Regions from separate parts of the Homo sapiens genome. Here region 2 is linked to region 1. The links are contacts of gene promoters, found by promoter capture Hi-C in blood cells and fetal thymus (Javierre and others, 2016). All regions are on one chromosome and are shown on one strand. The core of a region is centred on a gene start or on the middle of the fragment in contact, and the rest is flanking DNA. Distances in the headings are between cores, read along the strand shown. Region 1 holds the start of TICAM2 (TIR domain containing adaptor molecule 2). Region 2 has its middle 92 kb from the start of YTHDC2.

What was found. Contacts are between HindIII fragments. The CHiCAGO score rates a contact against its expected background, and 5 or more counts as called.
Region 2: a contact is called between a fragment that was not itself captured here and the fragment with the promoter of TICAM2 in region 1, in 6 of 17 cell types (total CD4 T cells, non-activated CD4 T cells, activated CD4 T cells and 3 more). The highest score is 13.7, in total CD4 T cells.

What each region holds. Positions count from the first base shown.
Region 1 is chr5:115,598,288-115,603,995 of GRCh38, forward strand. TICAM2 (TIR domain containing adaptor molecule 2) reads right to left here and starts at 4,192. Exons shown (of 2, transcript NM_021649.7): 1 at 3,810-4,192. All of the region lies in intron 3 of TMED7-TICAM2 (TMED7-TICAM2 readthrough), which reads right to left. It overlaps TICAM2-AS1 (TICAM2 antisense RNA 1), which reads left to right and starts at 3,868. Exons shown (of 3, transcript NR_109875.1): 1 at 3,868-4,173; 2 at 4,759-4,869. RefSeq lists enhancers at 3,514-3,593, 3,542-4,064 and a silencer at 3,684-4,183. The HindIII fragment of the contact is 4,479 bases long and covers 3,021-5,708 here.
Region 2 is chr5:113,602,771-113,608,421 of GRCh38, forward strand. No RefSeq gene overlaps it. Among named protein-coding and RNA genes, the nearest start is that of YTHDC2, 92 kb to the left of the region's middle. The HindIII fragment of the contact is 1,105 bases long and covers 1,177-2,281 here.

The DNA.
Region 1 (5,708 bases), core at 2,942-5,441:
GTTTAGCCTATCTCCAGGTTTAGCTCTATTTCATCTGTTTTTTATTTATATGCAAATATTCCAAGAGCATGGGTTTGCTAACTCTAAACCAAACAGGGCTTCTCCAACACTCTTCTTAAGTACCAAAGGACAGAACATTCATCTTCATCGTACCTAAAACAGGTCCTTGAGCAAGTAAATGTTTAAAAAAATGCTTCTATCCGATCTTCACCTGGGCACTGCTTTTTCATCTTGTGGACCCTATCTCTTCACTCAGTTGCTAGGAAGCTCCACGTTAATGAGTGCTCTGGCCAACAGACAGAAGCTTATGGCAAGTGTTTTGATACTATTAATAACTTCACTCCTAGTTTCTGCTTAACCCCCCTACTCTTCTCTCTGTTCGATATTCCAAATCTACTTATTATTTAATTTAATTTAATCTTATATTGGAAATATTTATTAAAGTATCTTAAATCCTAATTCTGAAATAAGAAGGAATTTTCTTCTTTTCTTTTACAAGAAGGGGTGATAGTACATACGCTACTGATAACAGAACCAGTTCCTTGAGATTAAAATGAGAAATAAGGATTATAAATTAAACAATCTTTTAGTTGCTACACCTCTTCATAAAGATGAAAATATTGTTTTTCATTTCTACATAGTCCTCAAAAGAGAACTGGAGCCAGATGCAGTGGTATGTGCCTCTAGGCCCAGCTATTTGGGAGGTTGAGGTGGGAAAATTGCTTGAGCCTGTGAGTTTAAGACCAGCCTGGGCAACATAGCAAGACCTTGTCTCAAAAAAAAAAAAAAAAAAGTTCAATTTATATAATATCTTATAAAATCTTCACAACTCTGACATTGGCTTAGTCACTGCAGAACTTAGAAACTTGTATATTATTCTCTGAACAAGTGTCTTTATTTTTCTTCTTCCCATAAACTACCTGCTGCTGGTACCATTCAAAGAGTCTCCAAATGTTAGATTATTGCTTCCTATTTCCTATTGCCCCTATTGGTGGGGGGAGGGGGGCAAAGTAACTGCCCCCCACCAAATATTATTACATATTCTTTTTAGTGAACTGGATATTTTTCTTCCATTTTCTGTATCTAAAAATGAAAACTGATGGTAAAGGGCAAATCTCCAAATCAGGAAGAGATTTTATAAAAACATAGAACTTAAAGGCAAACTGTCCATCTTATCAAAATTAGGCTCAAAAGAAAAATGGTTGTGCATTTTTAATATTAGGGAACTCAAGCAACCAACAATGTTTTAAAGGTTCCATAAGCTTCATGGAATACTAGAGAGTAGCATTCAGTATTTAATAGCAACCTACCGCACAGGCCCAGCAGCAAAAGAGATCTTGCTGCAATAGCACAGTAACCCCTGAGGCAGCATGCTAACAGAGAAGTGAGGGAGTACAGTGTGCAATGGTCTAGCAGACACCAGCTGCAGGCAAAGGCAACAGCAGCACAATCAGTGTTACTACAGTGGAGTGGATGAGAGGGAAGTCAGGAGATGAGTTCAGAGAACTAGTCAGGGACTAGATCACACAGGGCTTTAAAGCCATTGTAAGCCTGTTTTTCTTTTCTTTTTTTTTTCTTTCTTTTTTTTTGTGATTCTGATAAGAAGCCACCAGAAGGTTTTGAAGGGAAATGAAAGTTCTGAGTATGTATGACAAAAATCACTGCTATTTGGAAAAGACTGTAGAGGAGCAAGGGCAGAGGCAGAGACTTCTCAATCATGTAGGTAGGAGAGGACTGTGGCTTAGCTTAGAGAGGGAGAGAGAGGTGGGCAGATCTGGGTAGAGTCAACAGATTTTGTTGGATGCTTGGATGCGGAGTCTGACCTAAAAAGAGAAGTCAAGAGTAAATTCCTAGAATTCCGGCCTACTTGAATGGCAGTAACTGAGGCTGTTTATTGAGATAAGGGAGGGAGCTGAGGGGAAACAGAGGGAGAACTTGGTGAATCTGGCATCAGTAGTTCTATCTGTCCATACTAAATTTAAATGCCTATCAGACTTCCAAGTGGAGATGCTGAGTAAACAGCTGGACATACACATACATCTGGAGCTCAGAAGCGAACTAAAGCTAGGAATAAAATTTTGGAAGTCATCAGCTGATAGATATTATTTATAGCCAAGGAATATGGCTTGGGATACAAATTGTCCTGGGGGAAAGTATGGCTAGAAAAATATGGCCAAGAAATGAACTCTGTGGCATACTAAGATTTAGTGGTGGGGAAGCCTGGAGACACAATGAAGCAGAATGAAATGCAGAATATGGTGACCTGGAAGCCAAGTGAAGAAGAAAGAATATTAGTGAAGAACATTAGTGAAGAAAAAAGAATATTGAGGAGGGAGTGATCAAATGTTACTGAGGGGTCAGGAAAGATGAGAACTGTGCACAGACACTGGATTTCACAAGACAGTCATTGGCAACATCAGGACCATGCAGGGGGTAATGGGGACAAAAAGCCTCAGATGAGAGGGGGTAGGAAGAAACAGGGAAAATGAAAATGGAGACTTAGATTAAATCTTTCAAAGAGGATTTTTGTTTGTTATAAAAAGAAGCAAAGTAGGGGAGCGGGACCTAGAATGGGATGTGTGGTCTAGGGGGGATTAAAGACAGAAGATTTAACAGCAGATATTTGTTAAATGAATACATTTTAAGAATAGCATAAGGAACAAATGACTCAACACAGATGCCCATGATTCAACAGTGTAAACATGGTTTATACTTCAAGTTCCATACGGTAAGGCGTACATGTCACATTTACTTTGCTTCAAATGTAGGTGTCAATATTCTATACCTGCTTATCTATTTTCTGATTTGAATGAGATATAAAGTGGAGTTGCTTAACTCCATTTATAACCATCCTACTACTTCAAAATATTAAAATGTAAGGATTGATGGGCTGATAGGTGCAGCAAACCACCATGGCACACGTTTATCTATGTAACAAACCTGCAAGTCCTGCACATGTATCCCAGAACATAAAATTAAATTAAACAATAAAAAAATAGAAATACAGATTCTGGAAATCAAGCTTACCAAATTAAACCTTCAGAGGTGGGGGGATGCATTTTAAACAAAAGTCCCAAATGCGTCTTACCATCAGGCTTGTTTGAAAAACACTAATCTAAGGAATACTAAACACTTGGAGAAGGACAAGTTCTTCTCCTGTGTAGACGTGCAATGTGGGTTCAGGGGATGACACTTCAACTCTATATAATGGTGTATTTTTACCTCCAGATCATATAGCCTTTCCCACCCTTGCTTTTCAAAATTAAAAGGATAAATTAAAAAATAATAATAAATATGAGAATATTTTAAAATACTTTCTTTAAGAAGTTTACTACCGTGGAAAGCTGGAGAGGTCCTAATACACTGAAAACTAGCTCACAGCTGCCAGTCAAATTATTTTTATCCAAATTAGCTTTGCACAAAAAGCCAAGTAGGAAAACCCATGCCAAAACCTCCAGCACTGGCTCTGTGTGCCTGGCAGGGGCTCATGCAGAGCCTTTAGAGCATTTAAGACTCTGGGCTATTTGCTTATGGTTCTGAGGTGTCTTTTCGAAAATGGGTTTTCTAGTCAAAATGAAACAAAAAGGCAGACAGCTGTGTGGATTTTCCCTTCAGAGTAAGCCAAGTGACGGAAAGGCCTGCCCGCCCCGCTGGGGACAACAGCGCCAGCACCCGCGCCGTCGGGTCGGGTAGGCTGGGGAGGTAGCGCAGGCGGCCTGGCCCCCAGACCACCCCGCGCCCCTGGCGGCCTGGCCCCAGCCCACCCCGCGCCCCCGGCGGCGGCCCCCGCCCTAGCGCCCGGTACTTGCCTGCAGGCGAGCGCCACCACAGTCAGCCCGCGGCTTTTCTGTCTTCCTTTCTGGCCCAGCGAGAGCGCCCAGGGGGTGGGCGTCTTGCCCCGGGCGTCGAGAGTTTGGGGCCGTCCCGTACGCGGCGCGCCGCAACCCAGTCCCCGCGACCACAGCAGCCTGCTCCCCACCGCGCTTGCAGAGCCCGGACGCGCGTGAGTCGGGGGCCCGCAGAGGCCTCACCCTTGGAGGTCGCCGCTTGTCAGGCCTGACTGCTGTTGGCGCCCACCCCGCCGCCCCCGAGGGGCCGCTCGAGGCCGGACTGCTGCTTTGCCGTGGCAGGCCCCACCCGGGACGTGGCGCTGCGGGCCGGGGCGGTCCAGCTGTGAGTCAGGGGTTAATGTGGCGGGATAACTCTCTGCAGAGGGAAGGAGCTCGCAAAGAAGGGTGGAGGAGGGGAAACCGCAATGGGGAACTGTCACCGAGGCTAGTGGACTCTCCCTGCGCTTTTTTTTTTTTTTTTTTTTTTGGCATGTACCCCAAAAGCCAGAGGTCGAGGCCCAGAAAAATCTGGAAAGGAATTCCACCGTGTTTGCTCCTTACAGACCAGACAAACCGTAGATCTTTCAGAGGTACAGCGACTCTCCTGGTTCCCTAAGATAGTCTCGACTTTTCCTTTCCCTTTGCGGCCCTCTCACTTGACTACTGCAGCCAACCATACCCCTGATTAGGGGGTGCAGCACATCAGCCTCTGCCCCCAAAAACTACCCTGCGAAAGATCCTTTTTCTCAGGTTCGTTCTCCACAACCGAACAGATTGGAACTCCACTGAATAAGAGAGAACAAAAAAGCAATTAGTTAAATGAAGCGTAAAGAAGCCTTATAAAGCCCCATTGCTGCCTCAGGCACCCAATCTAGTCATAACCTAAGAGGTCCAGTTCAGAAATCTCCCCTCCCCTTTTAATTCTCAGGCAATCCCTACTCCCTGCCAAAGGAGAACCCAGTTACTGAACATCGGATGAGACCATGGATAGTAAATTGGGAGTGAAGGTCCATACCTGGGTCTCAGAAGCACAGTACAGGTAAAGCTAAGAGTTATTTCCTCCTTCTCTTTCCCCATCCAACAACAGGATGCCTTACTGAAGGTAGGCACTTCAGGTAGTAATTACTTAGTGAAATGCCGCCAATGTAGTCAGAAATACCGTATTATGTACCGTGTCAACACAATTCATTATTCACGGAGTTGATTCTCCAACCACTGCACCTCCCAACAATTCTACCTGAACTCTTTGGGTAAGCAGTGGCCTCCTAAATCCAACTGATACTTTTGTTGCCCTCATTTTTCCTGGGAGTCTCTTTGGCGATTGACAAAGTCGACCATTGTTTCCCAACACTCTGTTTCCTTGATGTTGACAACCCCACTTTGCCTTTATGCTCATCCTGCTTGTTAAAATTCTTTCAGGCCTGTTGGGAGGCCGAGGCGGGTGAATCACGAGGTCAGGAGATCGAGACCATCCTGGCTAACACGGTGAAACCCCGTCTCTACTAAAAAATACAAAAAATTAGCCGGGAGTGGTGGCAGCTGCCTGTAGTCCCAGCTACTTGGGAGGGTGAGGCAGGAGAATGGCTTGAACCCGGGAGGCGGAGCTTGCAGTGAGCCGAGATCGCGCCACTGCACTCCAGCCTGGGCCACAGAGTGAGACTCCGTCTCAAAAAAAAAAAAAAAAAAAAAAAATTCTTCTTTCAGTTTCCTCTGCCTGTTCCTCTTTCTCTGGCAACCCTTCAAAATCAGAGCTTTTCACATTTTCCCACTGAAATACCACCAATGACAGATTCCATAAACACGTACTTCCCTATTCATCACTTAGGTTGCATACATAAAAGAGCCTGAAGTCACTAGTGTCATGGGCAAATTTACTTG
Region 2 (5,651 bases), core at 479-2,978, 2.0 Mb before region 1:
GATAGGTTGAGGTTCATTTTTATGTACATGAATGTCCAATTGTTCCATCACTATTATTTAAAAGACTACCCTTTCTCTCTTGAATTGCCTTTGCACCTTTGTCAAAAAATCATTTGGCTGTATTTATTTGGTTCTTGAGTTCTTGAGTTGAGGAGACAAAGTTAAGAGTGGGAAAACCAAAGCACCTAGAGCTCTTAGAACAGACAGAAGACCAGAGATGAGAGAATTTCATAGAGAGTAAACCGCAACTCTCTGCAGAGGGTCCCTCTGGAGTGTTCAGCAAGCTGCTGATCAGTGCATGCGTGCAAAAACTACCTGAAGTCAGGAAAAGAACCATCTGAAAGGATTAAAGAAAACAGTGCCTGGTGCTTATAAATGGCCAAAAATAGTGCCTGTTCCCACCAGACTTGCAAAACTTCAAAAAAGGGAAAATGGTACAAAAAACAAATGGAAATAACAAATAGAGACAAAGACAACAACAAAAATAGAAAACAGACAATAGACTCAAACTGAAAAAATTAGTAATCTTATGATATGGCTTGGCTGGGTCCCCACCTAAATCTCATCTTGAATTGTAGCTTCCATAATCCTCGTGTGTCATGGCAGGGACCTGGTGGGAGGTAACTGAATCACGGGGGTGGGTTTTCCATGCTGTTCTCATGATAGTGAATCAGCTGCACGAGATCTGATGGTTTTATAAAGGGCAGTTTCCTGCACAGGCACTCTTGCCTGCTGCCATGTTAAGACTTGCCTTTGCCTTCACCTTCTACCATGATTGTGAGGCCTCCCCAGCCATGTGGAACTGTGAGTCCATTAAACCTCTTTTTCTTTATAAATTACCCAGTCTTGGGTATGTCTTTATTAGCAGCGTAAGAACAGACTAATACATCATATTAAGTGGAATGGTCCAAAAACTCCAAATAAAAGGGAGAGCTTGTCAGATTGGATAAAAAACCAAGACCCAGCTACATGATGCCTACAAGAAATGAATCATAAATGTAAAGACACACAGGTTAAATGTTAAAAAAATGAAAGAAGTTATGCCATGCTAATATTAACTTTTAAAAAGCTAGAATGGTTATATTAATGTCAGACAAAGGATAATTCAGAACAAAGAATATAATTGGGATAAAGACAGTAACTTAATAAAAGATCAATGGATATAATAATCCTAAAAGCTTATGCTCTTAATAATAAAAGAGCTTCAAAATGACTTAAGTGAAAATTGATAGAACTGCAAGGAAAAATAGGTAAGTTGACAATTATAGTCAGAGATTTCAATGTCTCTCAATAATTGTTAGAAAAAGTAAGCATAAAGTCAGCAAAAAATAGTAGGCTTGAAAAACACTATCCATCAACTTGACTTAATTAACATTAATAGAACTTACCACATAACAGGATTAGAATACACAGTCTTTTCAAGTGCACATATAATACTTATGATAGACCTGTTGTGGGCCACAAAGCAAATCCCAATAAATTTAAAAGCATTCAAATCATACAAAGTGTGTTCTCTGACCACAATGGACTTAAATTTGAAATCAGTAACATTCTACTTTGAACTAGCTAGAAAAAGCAATGTTTTCCCATTGACTTCCTCATAACTTCCAGCATTTACTTTCATTGGATGAACTGGTCACGTACACCATTGTCTCTACACCAATCACTGTGCTAATTAGTCTCTGTTAAATGTCTTCCCAAACACATGGACCAAGAGTAGAAAAGAAATGGTTCTCCAAAGGAATAGCAAAGTTATATTATCACAACAAAGATTCTGGGGCAGGGAAAATTATTAGTTTCCCACTACCAAAAGCTACTTGAACTAATTAATGAGTTTAACAAGGTTCCAGGATACAAAATCAATATACAAGAACCCAGCTGTATTTCTGTATATTGGCAACAAACAACTGTAAGTTAAAATAAGAAAAAATGCCATTTACAAAGCATCAAAAAAGATAAATATTTAGGAATAACTGACAAAAGATACGAAAAACCTATACACTGAAATGTACAAAATGTTGCTGAGAGAAATTAAAGATGACCTAAAAAACAAAGATTTACTTTTTCATGGGTTGGAAGACTCAATATTGCTAAGAAGTCAGTTCTCTGCAAAATCTATAGATTCATCAGAATCACAAAAGTGGGCTTTTTTGTAGACATGGGCAAGCTGATTTCAAAATTTATATGGAAATGTAAAGGACCTTAGCATAGCCAAAACAATGGAAAAAGTACAACTTTAGAGGGCCCATACTTAATTTTTATCTAATTCAAGACTTAACAAAGCTTTATGCTATAGTTTGGATATAGTTTGTTTGACCCCTTCCAAATCTGATGTTGAAATTTGGTTTCCAGTGTTGGAGATGGGTCCTAATGGGAGGTGTTTGGGTCATGAAGGTAGATCCTATGTGAATAGATTAATCCCCCTCTCTCTTGCTTTCTTGCTTGCCATGTGATCTCTGTACAGCTGGCTCCCCTTTGCCTTCTGCCATGAGTGGAAGCAGCCTGAAGCTCTCACCAGAAGCAAATACTGACACCATGCTTCTTGTATAGCCTGCAGAATCATGAGCCAAATAAACCTTTTTATAAAAAATAAATTACCATCTCCGATATTCCTTTATAGCAACACAAACAGACTAAGACACTTTAGTATACAAAACAACCTGGTTTTTACATAAATGTGGACACATAGAGCAGTAGAAAGTAATGGAAAGTCCAGAAATACACTCAACATCTATGGGCAACTGATTTTTTTTCACAAGGACACAAAGATAATGTGGTAGAAAAAGTACAGTCGTTTCGATACAGGAGTTGGAAATTATTTAGGCAGATAGGGTAAGAAAGTCCTCAGTAAGCTTTCCTTTTTGTAAAAGCAGCCCCCAAATCATTTCTTTTCTAACAAAAAGCAGCCTGAAAAATCAAGCTGCAAGCATAACTAAGCAAGCTAAAATCTTGCATAGGTAAATACCAGCAGCTGTGCCAGTAGAGAAAGGCTACCTGGGGGCCAGTCATGTTCAACATGGTGGCTCCATCTTCCCTTTGTGAACCACGTGTACAGTAAGGAACAGACAACATGGCGCTGGCCAGGTAGAGAGCCCATCTGCACAATAAAAGATTAGGGTGGGATGGGCAGCTTCCTTGAACCCCATGCAAACATAACAACTGGTTCTACCAATCTCTTGGGCCCTATGTAAATCAGACACCACCTCCTCCTATATAAATCAGACACCACCTCCTCAAGCTCATCTACAAAACCCCGTTTATTTCATCACAAAACTGGAAGACCCACTCGGGTGCCCCTCTCTCTGTGCAGAATAGAGAGCTATTCTCTTTTTCTTTTACGTATTAAACCTCTGCTCTTAAACTCTCTACTTGTGTGTCCATGTCCTTGAATCCCTTGGCGTGAAACAACGAACCTCGGGTATTTATCCCAGACAATGTCGCCGCTTCATTTTGGGGCCCCATCTGGGACATCCTTTCATTTCAAGGCTGTCGGCCTCCATTCTGGGCATTTTGGCTGTGTTTTGAACTGATTTCCCTTCATGGAAACCTAGCCATTGCATGGGGCTGGAATAAGTCCTGGAGGATTTCTGGCCAGGTCTACACCCTGGTGTTATCTGAAGGCTTCTGGACTGACCCGCCTCCAACTGCTCAATCAGGCATCGGCAACAGGATCTCCAGCTTTACTTATCATAATTTCCTCCTTTCCTGTCTGCGACTGCCATGTCTCCTCTCTCTGTATGCAATGTGGTGGGAATTTTTACAGTTCAGGGAAGTAATCCTATTAGGCAAGATCAGGAAATGTAGGATGCTGCAGTAACCAGGAATATAGCTCAAGGGAATGTCGTTTTTGTGATTTTTCTAGGAACTGAGGGTCTCCACCACTCCCCCGCCCCACCACTGTGAGCATTTCTCCGCCCTTGGGCTGGAGGGCACATGGCATTTCAAGGTCAACAGCACCACCTAGTGGAATAGAAATCTCCTCCCTTTTGGCACCTCTCTACTAGAGACCAGGCTTTATGCGCTTCTGTAAATGGAAAAACTCTCCCTTCAGCAATGAGGAGGAAAAAATCCTCTAAAATCAAATTTTAGTCTCGATACCGTCCCATCAGCAGGAAAATGGCCATTCGGTCCCTACGTTCTTTTAAGGCACATATTCTACCTCCCATTAAAACGATACTTAAATAGTAAGAAGATTTTATGTCTGGAAGTTCACCGGAACCATTCTCTAAGGGTAAGTGCTTTAGCATGGGCCATAATAGCAGGATATAGAGTTTAATCTAGTACACTCCCTCCATTAAATGGGTCTTGCTCACATGAAACTATTATGTAGTTTTTCCTGAGATCCATCTTTCTGGGAGCCACACGGGCCAGATGAGTCCAGGAAATCAAAGGGATATCACAAGTGGAGGACTAAAGTCACAAGAGTGAACATAATCCCAAATCGCTTAGTTCCTTTGGTTCCATGCTGAGGGTCATGCCTGCAACCATGGGTGGCACATTTAATAAATGCCAGGGCTCAGGGAACTAGGGAGGGAAAACAGGTGGGGGGATGCCTCCACTGTCTTTCCCTCTACCTTGGGCCATTTCAAAGGAAAGGAAGGAGACTAAAGGCATACGTTTTTCTTGCTTCTCTTTCTAGATAGGTAACAGACCATCTTCAGCCTGAATTCCTCTGGAATGTGTTCTGAAGCACTGGGACTCCTTTGACACTAGATTTTAAAGAAAAAGTGGGTCACTTTCTTATGCACAAGGGCATGGCCTTCTTACTAGAACTTTGCAAGTGTTGCACAATCAACTCAGCTTTTTTACCAGTCATATCAGGAGGGCCCAAAGAAAATGATTCCCCAAAATTAGAGAAACAAACCCTCAGGAAACCCTTGAATGCAACCCTCGAATGCAACTTCCAGATGCTGTGGCCCTTCCTGCCCCCCATCCACATGTCAGCTCCTCCAGTTCTACTACCCAAACCGCTAGACTTTTCTATGGTATTTCTCCTTCCTTCTTTCACAGTTTAAAATGGCTCCTATTCCTTCTTTTATAATGTTCCTCCAAACAGAGAAATGTCAAGTTCCCCAAACCTTAAAGTGCATCGCTTAGAGTTGAGCTCAGGAGCAGGGAACCCAGAAGCTGACATGCCAGCAAAACGGTAAAAGTTTTTTTTTAACCAGTTGGGCTTTTGGCCTCTCTGTCTCTGGGCAAACTGGTAAAAGGGATAATAAGGATCACTGATTACATTCTCTGTTAAGTTTTAATTAATGAAAAAGGATTTGTGTAGTTGGTCTTAAGCTGTCGTCAATCTGGTGTGCTTTGCATGTCTTTCTGCATGGTTCTGTCAAAAGAAAGGGTGCCTTAGGACTGGGACCTCATAAACCTGCTGTTCAAGCCAGCCCTACAAAATGATCGGTGATGAAGTTTGCTGCAGGCCTCCATCTTGTTTTATGTCCTTGGGAACATGAGCTGTGACTACGTGGCAATATTTTGTTTTAGTCTCTGCCATTCTACAGTGGTGGCTGTCTTCTTGTGCTGAGTCACTTCCTGAGTGGGGGCTACAAAATCAGATGAGCCAGTTTGTCAATCTGGGTGGTGCCAGCTGATCCATCAAGGGCAGGGTTTGCCAAGTATCTTGAGCACTGATCTTGGGAGCAGTTTAG